Regions from separate parts of the Homo sapiens genome. Here region 1 is linked to region 2. Evidence: promoter capture Hi-C in human tissues and cell types (Jung and others, 2019). All regions are on one chromosome and are shown on one strand. The core of a region is centred on a gene start or on the middle of the fragment in contact, and the rest is flanking DNA. Distances in the headings are between cores, read along the strand shown. Region 1 overlaps LOC105371864 (a long non-coding RNA gene). Region 2 holds the start of RGS9 (regulator of G protein signaling 9).

The links. The method cuts DNA at HindIII sites, captures the fragments that hold promoters and counts their contacts. A contact is called where the count stands out against the background at its distance.
Region 1: a contact is called between a fragment that was not itself captured here and the fragment with the promoter of RGS9 in region 2, in 1 of the 25 tissues and cell types used here (IMR-90 fibroblasts).

The regions. Positions count from the first base shown.
Region 1 is chr17:65,080,430-65,087,029 of GRCh38, reverse strand. All of the region lies in intron 2 of LOC105371864 (a long non-coding RNA gene), which reads left to right. Among named protein-coding and RNA genes, the nearest start is that of GNA13, 27 kb to the right of the region's middle. The HindIII fragment of the contact is 8,211 bases long and covers 1,022-6,600 here.
Region 2 is chr17:65,135,673-65,142,351 of GRCh38, reverse strand. RGS9 (regulator of G protein signaling 9) reads right to left here and starts at 4,982. Exons shown (of 19, transcript NM_003835.4): 1 at 4,755-4,982. The coding sequence starts at 4,811. RefSeq lists a silencer at 4,793-5,292. The HindIII fragment of the contact is 16,688 bases long and covers 1-6,679 here.

The sequences.
Region 1 (6,600 bases), core at 3,878-6,377, 55 kb after region 2:
GGCCCATTTGGCTCTCAGACTAAGCTAAGGTCTTCACTTAGCCTTTATCAGAAATAAAAGTGTAGGACAGGCATAGTGGCTCATGTTTGTAATCCTAGCACTTTGGGAGGCCAAGGCATGAGGATTGCTTGAGCTCAGGAGTTTGAGACCAGCCAGGGCAACATACTGAGACCCCTGTCTCAGGAAGGAAGGAAAAGAAAGAAAGAGGGAAGGGAAGGGAAGCAAAGGAAAGGGAAGGGAAGGGGAGGGGAGGGGAGGGGAGGGGAAATGGGAAGGGGAAGGGGGGGAGGGAAGGGAGAACAGGAAGGGGAAGGGGAAGGAAGGAAAGAAAGAAAGAGAAGGAAGGGAAGGGAAGGAAGGAAAGGCAGGCACACTCTACACCCATTAGGATCTTAAGGGAGTCCTGAGTGGTCTGGGTGGAGGGCTGGGGTTCAGTGCCAGGCCCCTCTGACTCAGACAACCCAAGCTGAATTCCCAGTGGCAGGCACTCAGCCATGAGCTAAAGGATCATACCCCACCTTTACTGGGTGTTTGGGGTCCCCACCTTTCAATTCATTTAATTCTCACAAAAACATCCCTATGAGGAAGCAGCAATTATGATCCACATTTTAGAGATGGGGAAACTGAGTCACAGAGGCTTTAAGTCACTTGGGGAAACTGAGTCACAGAGGCTTTAAATCACTCGCCTGGGTCCTGTAGCTTTGAATGGTAAGTGGCAGCACTGGAGTTTCGCCCTCGGCAGGCTGGTTCTGGAGTCCACACTCCTAACCTTTCCCAATCCCTGCCTGGGCTGCTTCGGCCAAAGAGACACCAGCTGATGGCCCTCAGAGACACCAGCCACCAAGACCTCCCGAGGGGTCTTGGCATCCCTAGTGTTCCTGTGACTCAAGCTCAGCCTTCCAGACCCCCAGCCCCTCCTTGTGCTTCCGGCAGGCGTCTCCTTCCGTGAGCAGCAGATGGGGGAGCAGGAGCCGGTGCATCCCCCCAAGACCCTCCACGGCAGGGACTTTCCAGTTCCCACCCATGCTGCTCTCTGCCCCTGATTTTCCTGGGAATGGCAACATCTGCAAGGGTGCAGGAAGATGACTGAGCCAGGATATGCAAAGGAAATGAAAACGGGAGCACCTGCAAGGATTTTGTTTACTATTCCACAAGTTCCACTTTCTTTCTTTAGACAGGGAGTTTCAAATTCCATCTCCTTCACTCTTCGGGTCCTCCCACCCTGGTGTGAAGATTCACCCTCCAGTCCCCCAGGTACGGGACCATCTGTGTTGCGTTTCACGAAACGTAACTGTGACATCACATCAGGACACTCCCAAGGCTCACCGTCCAATTGGGGTCCCCAAACTGTTCATCCCCCTCTTGAACTTGGCAGCTCCCTCTGCGGCTCTCACACATTAGCCCATCTTCTCAAGCTCCTGACCAAGCCTCCACTCCTCTCATTCTTGGCAGCTGACAATGCATTTGCTAAGCTAAGCAGCTGGCAGCCTTGACTGCTACCTCCCCCACCACAAATGCATCTTCATCTGCCCCTGTTAGAGGGCGATGTATCTCTTTCCTCTTCAAGGCCACCCCCTCCAGTTGTGTGTGCTCTCCTCCTGTCTCCTTTTTGACCTTGCCCATCCCTATTCTTTTGATCTATAAATATGCTAAAGCCATTTCTATCCTTTATTTTTATTTATTTATTTATTTATTTATTTATTTATTTTTGAGACAGAGTCTTGCTCTGTCGCCCAGACTGGAGTGCAGTGGCACAATCTTGGCTCACTGTAACCTCTGCCTGCCGGATTCAAGTAATTCTCCTGCCTCAGCCTCCCGAGTAGCTGGGACTACAGGCGCCTGCCACCACGCCTGGCTAATTTTTGTGTTTTTGGTAGATACAGGGTTTCACCAAGTTGACCAGGCTGCTCTCGAACTCCTGACCTCAGGTGATCCGCCTGCCTCAACCTCCCAAAGTGCTGGGATTACAGGTGTGAGCCACCGTGCCCGGCCACCTTTTCTATCTTTTAAAAAAATGTGGTCCTCCCTTCCCTGCCCTCAGCTATCACTTATATCTGTTTGCTACCACTCTATCTGTTTTCGGCCCTTCTCTGTCCCTTCTGGTGGGTGGTCGTCTCTTGCTCTCCTCCCATCTACTCCCTAATCTGGGGCAATCTGGAATTGGTCCCATCCCTGTTTCATTTAAACTGCTCTCTTCACAAATGTCCTGCCAAATGTCAACTGCAAGAGACACCCTGCATTCCTTTTTTTTTTTTTTTTCCCCAGTCAGGGTCTTACTCTGTCACCCAGGCTGGAGTGGCATGATCACGGCTCACTGCAGCCTCAACCTCCCAGGCTCAGGTGATCCTCCCTCTGCCTCCTGGTTAGCTGAGACTACAGGTGTGTGCCATTCACTCCCAGCTAGTTTGTTGTTGTTGTTGTTGTTGTTTATTTTTTTGTAGAGATCAGGTTTTACCCTGTTGCTCAGGCTGGTCTGGAACTCCTGGGCTCAAGTGATCTGGTCACCTCAGCCTCCCAAAGTGTTGGGATTTGCAGCTCTACAAAAGAGGGCCACTGTGCCTGCTCCCCCTTTTCTGTTCTATCTGCAACATTTTACACTGCTCACCTCTCCCTTCTTGATGGCTCTTCCTGGGTTTCCGGGACATGACTCTATTCTAGTTCTTAGTCTTCATCTGATAGCTGTTTCTTGGTCTTCTTTGCTGGCTCCTCAAGCTGCCCAGTAAATGTGTGTGTTCTGCAAGAGTTCACTCTTTTTTTTTTTTTTTAATACTTTAAGTTCTAGGGTACATGTGCACAACATGCAGGTTTGATACATAGGTATACATGTGCCAAGTTGGTTTGCTGCACCCATCAACTTGTCATTTACATTAGGTATTTCTCCTAATGCTATACCTCCTCCAGCCCCCCACCCCATGACAGGCCCCAGTGTGTGATGTTCCCCACCCTGTGTCCAAGTGTTTTCATTGTTCGATTCCCACCTATGAGTGAGTACAAGCGGTGTTTGGTTTTCTGTCCTTGTGACAGGTTGCTGAGAATGATGGTTTCCAGCTTCATCCATGTCCCTGCAAAGGACATGAAAGAGTTCACTCTTAGTCCATCTGTCTTCTCATTCTTCGTGCTCTTCAAGCTGACCTCACTCATCCCATCATGGTTAACCACCCTTACGTGTTGATGACCTCCAAGTCTCTCCTTTCCAGCCCTACCTACTCTCCAATCTTCTAATCAAGTGCTGTGCAATAGACCTTGCTGTAATAATGAAAATGTTCTATAAATTGGGCTGTCCAATATGGTAGCCACTAGCCACATGTGGCTACTGGGCACTTAAAATGTGGTTAATGGCCAGGCATGGTGACTCACACCTATAATTCCAGCACTTTGGGAGGTTGAAGTGAGAGCCCGGGAGTAGAGACCAGCCTGGGCAACATAGTGAGACCTCATCTCTATATATTAAAAAAAAAGAGAAAGAGAAAAGGAATGTGGCTAGTGTGTTTAAGGAACTGAGTTTTAGATGTTATTTAATTTTAATTTTAATAGCTACAGGGCCGGCTCAAGCCTGTAATCCCAACACTTTGGGAGGCTGAGGCAGGTGGATCACAAAGTCAGGAGTTCGAGACCACCCTGGCCAACCTGGTGAAACCTCATCTGTACTAAAAATACAAAAATTAGCTGGGTGCGGTGGTGGGTGCCTGTGATCCCGGCTACTCAGGAGACTGAGGCAGGAGAATTGCTTGAACCCGGGAGGCAGAGGTTGCAGTGAGCCGAGATTGCATCACTGCATTCCAGCCTGGGAGACAGAACAAGACTCCATCTCAAAGAAAACAAAAAAATTAAAAATTAAAAAAATCAATAGCTACAAGTGGCTAGTGGCTACTGTATTGGACAGTACAGTTGTAGACCTACATTGCCAACTGCCTGGGGACATCTTGATTAGGATGTCTCTCTGGCTCCTCAACAAGTCCCAAACTGAGCTTATTAGCATCACACTCTCCCCTACCTTCGCCTCCATGCCCTTGAGCAAAATGAAAACCTTCTCTTTCTCTTGATTTCTCTTCCTGAGTTGACAGCATCAACACTCATGCCTTTACCCAAACCCTAAACTTCTAGACTTCCAGGCTCTTCCTTTTCACTCATCTTCTATAATTATGTGGTCAATTCTCCCTCCTAAATTTCTTGTAGCTCCATCCTTGCCTTTCCAAACCTTCTCAGAGGCTTGAGTTCAGAATCAAAGCTTCTCTTGTCAGGCTATCACCAATTCCCTACACCCAGCCTCCGCCAAGCCACCAGCAGACCTCTGAGCTGGACAGCTTTCCTTTGCTTCTCCGGATGTCCTCTCCATCTCCACCCTTCCATCCTGATGTCCTAGTAGCTGGTTTCTATAGACCCTGTCACCTGGACTTCTTTGCTCTTGGACTTCCAACTGGGTCAGGAAGACTGGAGGGTGGGAAGAGGTTGGCGCATCTAACCACTGAGCTCCTAGGGTTATTGGTAGCTGCCTTCCTCTACCAAAGCCCATGTCCATGAGGTGGCCACTCCTACAGCTACGGGATTCTGGTTCTCACTCTTTTCACTTGCTGCTTCCAGCCTAGATGCAGTAAGAGTTCCCTGCTGTGGTTCTGCTGGGGCACTGCGCCGCCCTTTGTTGTTTCCCTAATCACGTCTCAATCCCCCCGCGCACCACCCCCCCAACTTTTTTTTTTGAGACAGGATCTCACTCTTGCCCAGGCTAGAGTACAGTTGCACAATCATGGCTCACCGTAGCCTCGACCCCTGGGTTCAAGTGATCCTTCCAACTCAGCCTCCCAAGTAGCTGGGACAACAGGTGTGTACCACAACACCCAGCTGAGTTTTTTTGTTTTTGTTTTTGTTTCTTTTTAATTTTTAGAGATGAGGGTCTCACTATGTTTCCCAGGCTGGTCTTGAACTCCAGGGCTCAAGCAATCCTCCCACCTTGGCCTTCCAAAGTTAGAATTACAGGCATGAACCACCTTGCCCAGCCCTTCTCAAGTCTTTATTCATGGTCCGTTTATTAAACTCTCCTTGGTTGCCCAGATTCAGTGTGTTATCCATTTCTTCTGGGACTTGATTGATATTTCCAAGCCTTGAAATGCCTCCTCGTCACCCACAGGAGACAAATAAAGCCTGTGCTTCTTTGAAGAGCACCTGAAGCCACTTATGATCTGTTTCCTGCTTGCTCTTTCCACTTCATCTCCCACCTCTCCTTCTCTTGCGCTTTATAGTCCTATAATGCCAGATTGCTTATGATGCCCGGAAGGGGCCCTATTGTTTTCCACCTCCATGCCTATGCCTGCCAAACTCTTGCTTAACCTTTAAAACCCTTCTCCAGATGTTGCCTCCTCTGGGAAGTCCCCCAGGCCTTCCTTTCTGCTTCTACTGTATTTTGTTGGTATTTCCATTATTTATGACATCATGATATATTATAATTTCTTGTTTAGGTCTGTATTGTCTTTTCTGCCCATAGAGTGCCTCTTAAGGAAAGGACTAGGCCAGATGTGGTGGCTCACACCTGTAATTCTAGTGCTTTGGGAGGCTGAGGCAGAAGGTTCACTTGAGGCCAGGAGTTCAAGACTAAGCTCAGCAACATAGTGAGATTCCACCTCTACAATAAAATTTAAAAATTAGCTGGGCAGGGTATCACACACCTGCAGTCCCAGCTACTCGAGAAGCTGAGACAGGAGGATCACTTGAGCCCAAGAGGTTGAGGCTACAGGGCTACAGTAAGCCATAATCACACCACTGCACTCTAGCCCAGGTAAGAGAGTGAGATCTTATCTCTTAAAAAAAAAAAAAGTAAGGATATAAATATATATATTTATTTAATAAAATATTTATTGATCCTGGCATTCTAGGTGCTAGATAGCTAGATATATCAGTAGTGACCCCTTTCTACAAGCACTATGAGGGAAGCACTATTGTCCTTATCTTAGAGGACACCCAGAAGGCCGAGGTTGCAGTGATGTGCCAGGTTCAGAAAACTGGCAAGAGGTTTGGATTTGGTGTCAAACCAAGTCCTTCTAGCTGCACAGTTCATACTTTTGGCCACAGTTTTACGTTGCTGCAGGTCTTGCCAAGAATAGTTTTATTGGCCGGGTGCGGTGGCTCATGCCTGTAATCCCAGCACTTTGGGAGGCCGAGGCAGGCGGATCACGAGGTCAGGAGATCGAGGCCATCCTGGCTAACACGGTGAACCAGTCTCTACTAAAAATACAAAAAAATTAGCCGGGCGTGATGGTGGGCGCCTGTAGTCTCAGCTACTCGGGAGGCTGAGGCAGGAGAACGGCGTGAGCCCGGAAGGTGGAGCTTGCAGTGAGCCGAGATCGCGCCTGGGGGACAGAGCGTGACCCCGTTTCAAAAAAAAAAAAAAAAAAAGTTTTATTAAGACTGGTGTTACGGGTTGAATTGTGACCCCCTCCCACACTCACAGAAGGATATGCTGAAGTCCTGACGCCCACTGCTTCAGAATGGGCCTTATTTGGAAGGAAGGTCTTTACAGAAGTAATCAGGTTAAAATGAGGTTCAGGGCTGGGTGCAGCCGCTCAGGCCTGTAATCCCAGCACTTTGGGAGGCTGCGGCAGGAGGATC
Region 2 (6,679 bases), core at 3,733-6,232:
TTAAACACAGAAGCCATCAAACTCTGTAGCATGACCTAGGAAGCCCTCCAGTTCTGGGCTTTTCTTTTTGTTTGTTTGTTTTTGGTTTTTGGTTTTTGGGTTTTTTTTGAGACTGAGTCTTGCTCTGTCACCCAGGCTGGAGTGCGGTGGCATGATCTCAGCTCACTGCAGCCTCCGCCTCCTGGGTTCAAGCAATTCTCCTGCCTCAGCCTCCCAAGTAGCTAGGATTACAGGCGCATGCCAGCATGCCTGGCTAATTTGTGTATTTTTGGTTTCACCATGTTAGCCAGGCTGGTCTTGAACTCCTGACCTAGTGATCCGTCCACCTCAGCCTCCCAAAGTACTGGGATTACAGGCATGTGCCACTGCACCCAGCAGATCTGGGCCTTTCTTACCTACCAGTCTTCTCCATCAACGCCAAACTCACTTCCTGTACACTTGGGGCCAGCTCTCCCAACCCGCAGGCAATCTCCCAAACCACCATGCTACTTCACATGTCCCTGTTTTGTATTGCCTAAAATGTCACTCATTTCCTCAACCTCCTGGCCAAAAACTACTGACTTTTTATAATTCGACTCCATTGCAAGCCCCCTTGTAAAATCTGTCCTGATCCCCCCTGACCCCAGGTAGAACTGACCACTCCCTGCTTGGTGTCACATGTATCCTCCAACAATGTCTGCCACAGCCTATGGAACACTTCTTGTCTCCTTGTTTATACATCTGTCTTTCTCCACTAGACTCTAAGCTCCTTGGTGCTCCCAGCACCTGGCACAGCATCTAGCCCATAAGTACCCAATTATATGTCTGTATTGAATGAAAGAATGTTACAAGCAAGAGATACCAAACTCGGCCTGGATATCCTCAATATTTCTGCTTCTGCATTCCTTTCTCAGGCAAAAAGAGATGCCAGAAGCCGCACAGGAAAACAAAGCTGTCACCAGAAGGCTTCTCCAAGAAAGTCCAAGAAATTCGCCCATGGTGAATCCCAAGGGCGGTGGTGGTACTGGCTGGGATGGTGATCTGGTAATTGCAGAGGGGAATGGGCCATCCCCAGAACAAGAGTCCATGGGTGCTGGAACCACAGGAGGCCACCCACCTGTGTTCATCTGTCCACTGTGTGCCATCAGCTAATTCCCCAGCAAAGCCATGAACAGATGGGCCTTCTGCCTCTTTCTACCACATCTGAAACGAGCCCAGGCATCAGAGGTGGGAAGCAGCATGGCCGGCGGGCATCCCGACCCACAGCTGCATTGAGACTGAGATGGAGGCATGGGTGTGAGAACCTCGGGAATCGCACACGGTCCTTTCTGACCAGTATGGCTCTCCATGGCCCCATGACAGTTGTCATTTCTCAAGAGGTTGGAGCTGCAGGGGCACAGGAGGATCCTGAGTGAACTCTCTTAGTTCAGGGAGAAGGCATTCCACCCATTCCTCTGGCTCACACCAGTGGTCCTTTTTTTTTTTTTAGACAGAGTCTCTCTCTGTCACACAGGCTAGAGTGTAGTGTAGTGGCAAGAACTTGTGAACTCAGTTACTGCAACCTCCACCTCCCGGGTTCAAGCAATTCTCCTGCCTCAGCCTCCCAAGTAGCTGGGATTACAGGTGCTCACCACCACGCCCTGCTAATTTTTATATTTTTAATAGTCAGAGGGTTTTGCCATGTTGGCCAGGCTGGTCTCAAACTCCTGATCTCAGATGATCCACCTACCTTGGCCTCCCAAACTGCTGGGATTACAGGCATGAGCCACTGCAACTGGCCCACCAGTGATCTTCTTAATTTGCAAATCTGCCATATCACTTGCCCATTCCAATTTCTATAGTGGCTCCGTATGAGATAAAACCAAACCTTTAAAAGGTCTTGAAGGCCCATAGGCACCCACTACCTCTGCCTTTCCTTTCCAGCTTCCCACTCCCCTTGCACTTCAAAATCCATCCATTACAGAACATGGCCCCAAACCCACTAGCTTTCCCATGCCTCTGTGCGTAAACTGTTCCCTCTGCCTGAAACATCTTTCCCTTTCTGCCTGGAAACCCTATGTATCCTTCAGGTCTCAGCTCTGTGTCCCTAAGCACACTGAGCCAGGCTTTCCCACAGCCTCCACACTCTGCCCTACGTCATGGGAAAGCTCAGGGCATTGCACCACAACTTGTGACAGACAACGACCACTCCTGTATTTCTTCTTGGTTTCACCACCTAGTGCTGCGTGACTGGCAAGCCGCTTAGCCTCTCTGAGCCTCAGCTTTCTTCTCTGTAAAATGGTGGCCATAACCTCCAGCTAATGAAATAGATGAGATAATGCACATAATGCCCACCCCTCCACACCATCATGGACACCGTGTACTTCATCACATGCATGGAACGAGTGATGAGTGACAGTTGCACCCAGGTCCACATTTTTTTGTTCCAGGCCCTTCTCCAGAAAGCTGAACATCGAATGTAGCTGGTTCTTCATTAAGGATCGCCTGGCATGGGCTCTTGAGACCTGTTCTGCAGACCTTTATTCTGTCTGCTGCTCCAAGGAGCTCTGTGACATGACCAATACATACATAGATATAGAGGATACATAGACAGGGCCCTTGCCAGCACAAGGTCTAGGGAAAGAGCAATGCTGGAGGTGTGGCAAGGTCTGTAGTGCACAGAGAAGGGAGCTGTCCTGCCCAGGGGCATTAGGAGAACCAGCCTTCACAGCCGAGGGGTGACTGAGCTGGGCATGGGAAGAGAAGTGGAGCTTGGCAAGCGAGAGGGGGAGAAAGGACTTTCCCAGCAGACGGACCCTGAGGCATGAAAGGGCACCGGGTTCCTAAAAAGGAAGGAAGTGTTTGAGGCAGGAGCCCAGGGGTGCCTGTGGCTGCTTTGTTGTTTCCCAGAGGGCAGGTGTGGAAGGCAGGCAGGAGGCAAAGCCAGGAAGATGGTGGGAGCGGAATCCTGGGTAACCAGGCTGCTCAGGGGAAGGTTGGACTTTATGCTGGGAATGTGGGAAGCCAGTGGAGCGTTTCAGGTCAAGGAGGTCACCATTGATTTGGGGGAAAAAAACAGTGTGTGTAGGAAAGCTGTCATGGAGGAGGGGAGACCGGGGTGGAAGATGGGGAGCTGGGATGCAGGAGGGGGAGGTTAGGGTAGAGGAGAGGTAAGTTAGGATGGAGGAGGAGAAGGCTGGGGAGGAGGAGGAGGATGGGGTAGAGGAAGGGGAAGACAGGGTGGAGGAAGAGGACCTGGGGTGGAGGAGGGAAAGGTGGGGTGGAGGGGGGAGAGCTGGGGTGGAGGAGGGGAGCTGGAATGGAGGAGGGAGAGGTTAGGGTGGAGGAAGGGAGACTAAGGTGGAGGAGGGAGAGTTTGGGTGGAGGAGGGGATGCTGGGGTGGAGGAGGGGATGCTGGGGTGGAGGAGGGGTGGCTGGGGAGGAGGAGGGAAGCCTGGGGTGGAGGAGAGAAACTAGAGACCAAGACACTAGTCAGAAGACCAAGGTAAGGAGAGGAGAATCTACCAGAGAAGAGTCATGATGGAAAAGAATGCCAGAGATTCAATAAACAAACTGAATTTATCTCTTGACAATTACCCTCTGAGCCCCCAAGCCAGAGCTGTCCTGCCTGGGAGGAGACAGTCCTAGGATAAATCCTGGAAGATGATGTGTGGCTTTGAGATAGCCGACTTAGGCAGTTTCTTCTGCTTTTAGTAACTGGTATCTGCAATACAGGCTCTCAGGGTTCTTTCTGAGTGAGACAACATTCAGCCTGTCTGCTTTACAGATGATACCCACACCTCTGCTACCCGGAAGATGAGCACGAGCATCTTGAAACAGGTGGACCAAATGCGACCGTCTCGGGGTCCCCAGGACTGTCCAGGTTTTAGCATTGAAAGTCCTGGGCAAATCAGGACAGCGGTCACTGACTATACAAATTTGCTGAGCTCCAGGGGCTCAGGGAGAGCTCAGCTTGTCACAAAACATTCAACTAATTCTACTCAACAAGATAAGCCTAAGAAGATGGACACTACGCTGTGAAAAGTGGCTACGGGTGGGAGGAAGGACAAAGATGTGACCCGGGACCTAATCCTCTGTAGATCTCATCGGACAGTGATTATACCAGAAGCTCAGAACTAAATGAACCACTTTGTCCCCAAACACATCACCCCACAGGTGCATTCCACCTCCCACATGTCCATCCTGTGTGCACACCCTGTGCCCGGTCACTTTGTCTGGGAAAGCATTCGCAAGGGAAGCGAAAAGGTTGGGACTTCTGCCGCCAGCGCAGACAGCAGGAGATGCACAGATAGACACACTCAAATGAGGGCTCTCAGGGCATTGTAAATGGGGTGGCCCTTTATCCTACAAATCACCCCGTTTTCATGGTCTATGTGTACACACACACACACTTTAAAATAGTGCAGTTTGGGATCAGAAAAAAAAGGCAAAAATGGCAATGTCACATCTGGTCGTCTTACAACAATATCAGCAGGCTGTCTCAAATCTGCCACAGCCTGAACTGAACCTGCCTCTCCCGAGTAACAGGTTGTTTTCACCTCCCGCAGACCATCAGCGCTGGCTTCAGATTCTCCACTACAGGCAGGGCACACGAAAACCTAATTATTATAGCCATCAATATCGACACACACAGCAAAGAAGTCACTTAATAAAATCGAGCAGCACAAATCGACCCAAAGGGGTGCTCTCCACTCCTGCCCCTCTTGTCCTCGGACGCTTCGCAGATGCGGTCCCCCGCCCTCCTCCCAGGGTCCAGGTGAGGGGCCAGGGTTACCTTTTGGAGAAATGCCATCCTCGGCCTGTACTGCTGGCCTTGGTGTCGGATTGTCATCCTGGCCCCTGGATGGATTCACAGCCAGAGCACCAGTGGGAGACAAGAGGAGAAGCCCCCCAAGTTCGAAAGGCAGCCTGGCTCGCCCCAGCCCTGGGCGTCGACGGGGAGGCGGCTGGGCGGGGAGGGCGCGGGCCGGGCCCCCCTGACTCTCACTAGGCGCCGCTGACTTGGAAAGCAGCTGGAATCCGCGCCAGCCAATCCGCGAGCGGCGCCGCGGGCTCATTAGCATGCGCTGCGCGGGCGCCCACCTGCCGCCAGGGGGCGCTATCCGGCCCCCGCCGGGACCCCGCGGAGCAGCAGGTGAGACCCGCAGGGCAGGGCCCCGGGAGGAGAAGGAGGAGGAGGACCTGGCGGGAGGAGGAGGAGGACCTAGCGGGAGGAGGAGGAGGACCTGTCGAGAGCAGCGAGCCTTTTAACTTGGGGCGGAGTTATGCACAGAAGTGACACAAAGAGCCCTCACTAATACAGCGCGGTGGAAAATACGGACTTTCCCATCCCAGCTCTGCCACTAACCAGCCGGCAGCCTTGGGCAAGTTCCTTACAATCTCTAAGAATCAATGTCCTTCACTCAAAAGTAAAAATTGAAAAATGGGATCATAATATCGACCAGAAAAGGTTGCTATACCATTTTAATGAGGAGATGTGTAACACAGTGCTTGGCCCTCAATAAATGCTTAGAAAAAAAAATTAGAGGTGGCGATTTAATGACCCAATAGCAGAGGAATTGCTAAGATGTGGGTTTAAAAAGAGAGAGCAAAGAAGTGAAGAAGGAAGAGAGGAAGGTTGTAGTCCTCACCGGGCTAGCTGTCTGGATGAAGCGAATTATATTTTACTTCTCTGATTCTTAGTGTTTCGGTTAGTTGGTTGTTGGGTTTGTTGTTGTTTAACTTTTTTTTTGAGACAGGGTCTTGCTCTGTCACCCAGGCTGGAGTGCAGTGGCGTAATCATGGCTCATTGCAGCTACAACCTCCCAGGCTCAAACAATCCTCCCACCTCAGCCTCCCCAGTAGCTGGGGCTACAGGCACGTGCCACCACACCCCGCTAATTTTTACAAAAATTGTTTGTGGAGAGGGAGTTTCACAAACTCCTGGGCTCAATCGATCTACCCACCTCGGCCTCCCAAAGTGCTGGAATTACAGGAGTGAGCCACTGCAGCTGGCTGGTTTGCTTGTTTTAATAGACTTTATTTCTTAGAGCAGTTTTAGGTTCACAGCACAATTGAGCGGAAGGTATAGGGACACGTCATATATCCCCTCTCCCCACGCACGCACAGCGTCCCCCATGATCAACATCCTCCACTGGAGTGGCCCATTTGTTACAATTGATGAACCTACCTTGACAGCTCATTATGTTAGCGTTTTCATCTTGAGAAAAATGCAAGGATGAAGCCTCTAAGTTATTATCAAGAGCCTTTCTGCTTTGTTATATAAAGCACTTTCTCTTAAACATACTCGATGGTTATTGAGTGTAGCAGATAAAATGTTTAAGTTGGAAGAAAACAAGAAGGCCTTTACCTTAGGAAGGCACAGTCAACCAATGTCCCTTTAAAGCAGTGGTTCTTGGCTGGGTGTGATGGCTCACGCCTATAATTCCAGCACTTTGGGAGGCCCAAGCGGGTGAATCACTTGAAGTCAGGAGTTCAAGACCAGCCTGGCCAACATGGCAAAACCCTATCTCTATTAAAAATACAGAAATCAATCAGCATGGTGGAGCAACCTGTAATCCCAGCTACTCAGGAGGCTGAGGCACAAGAATCACTTGAACCCAGAGGCTGCAGTGAGCCAAGACTGAGCCACTGCATTCCAGCCTGGGTGACAGAGTGAGACTCTGTCTCAAAAAAAAAAAAAAGCAGTGGTTCTTATCC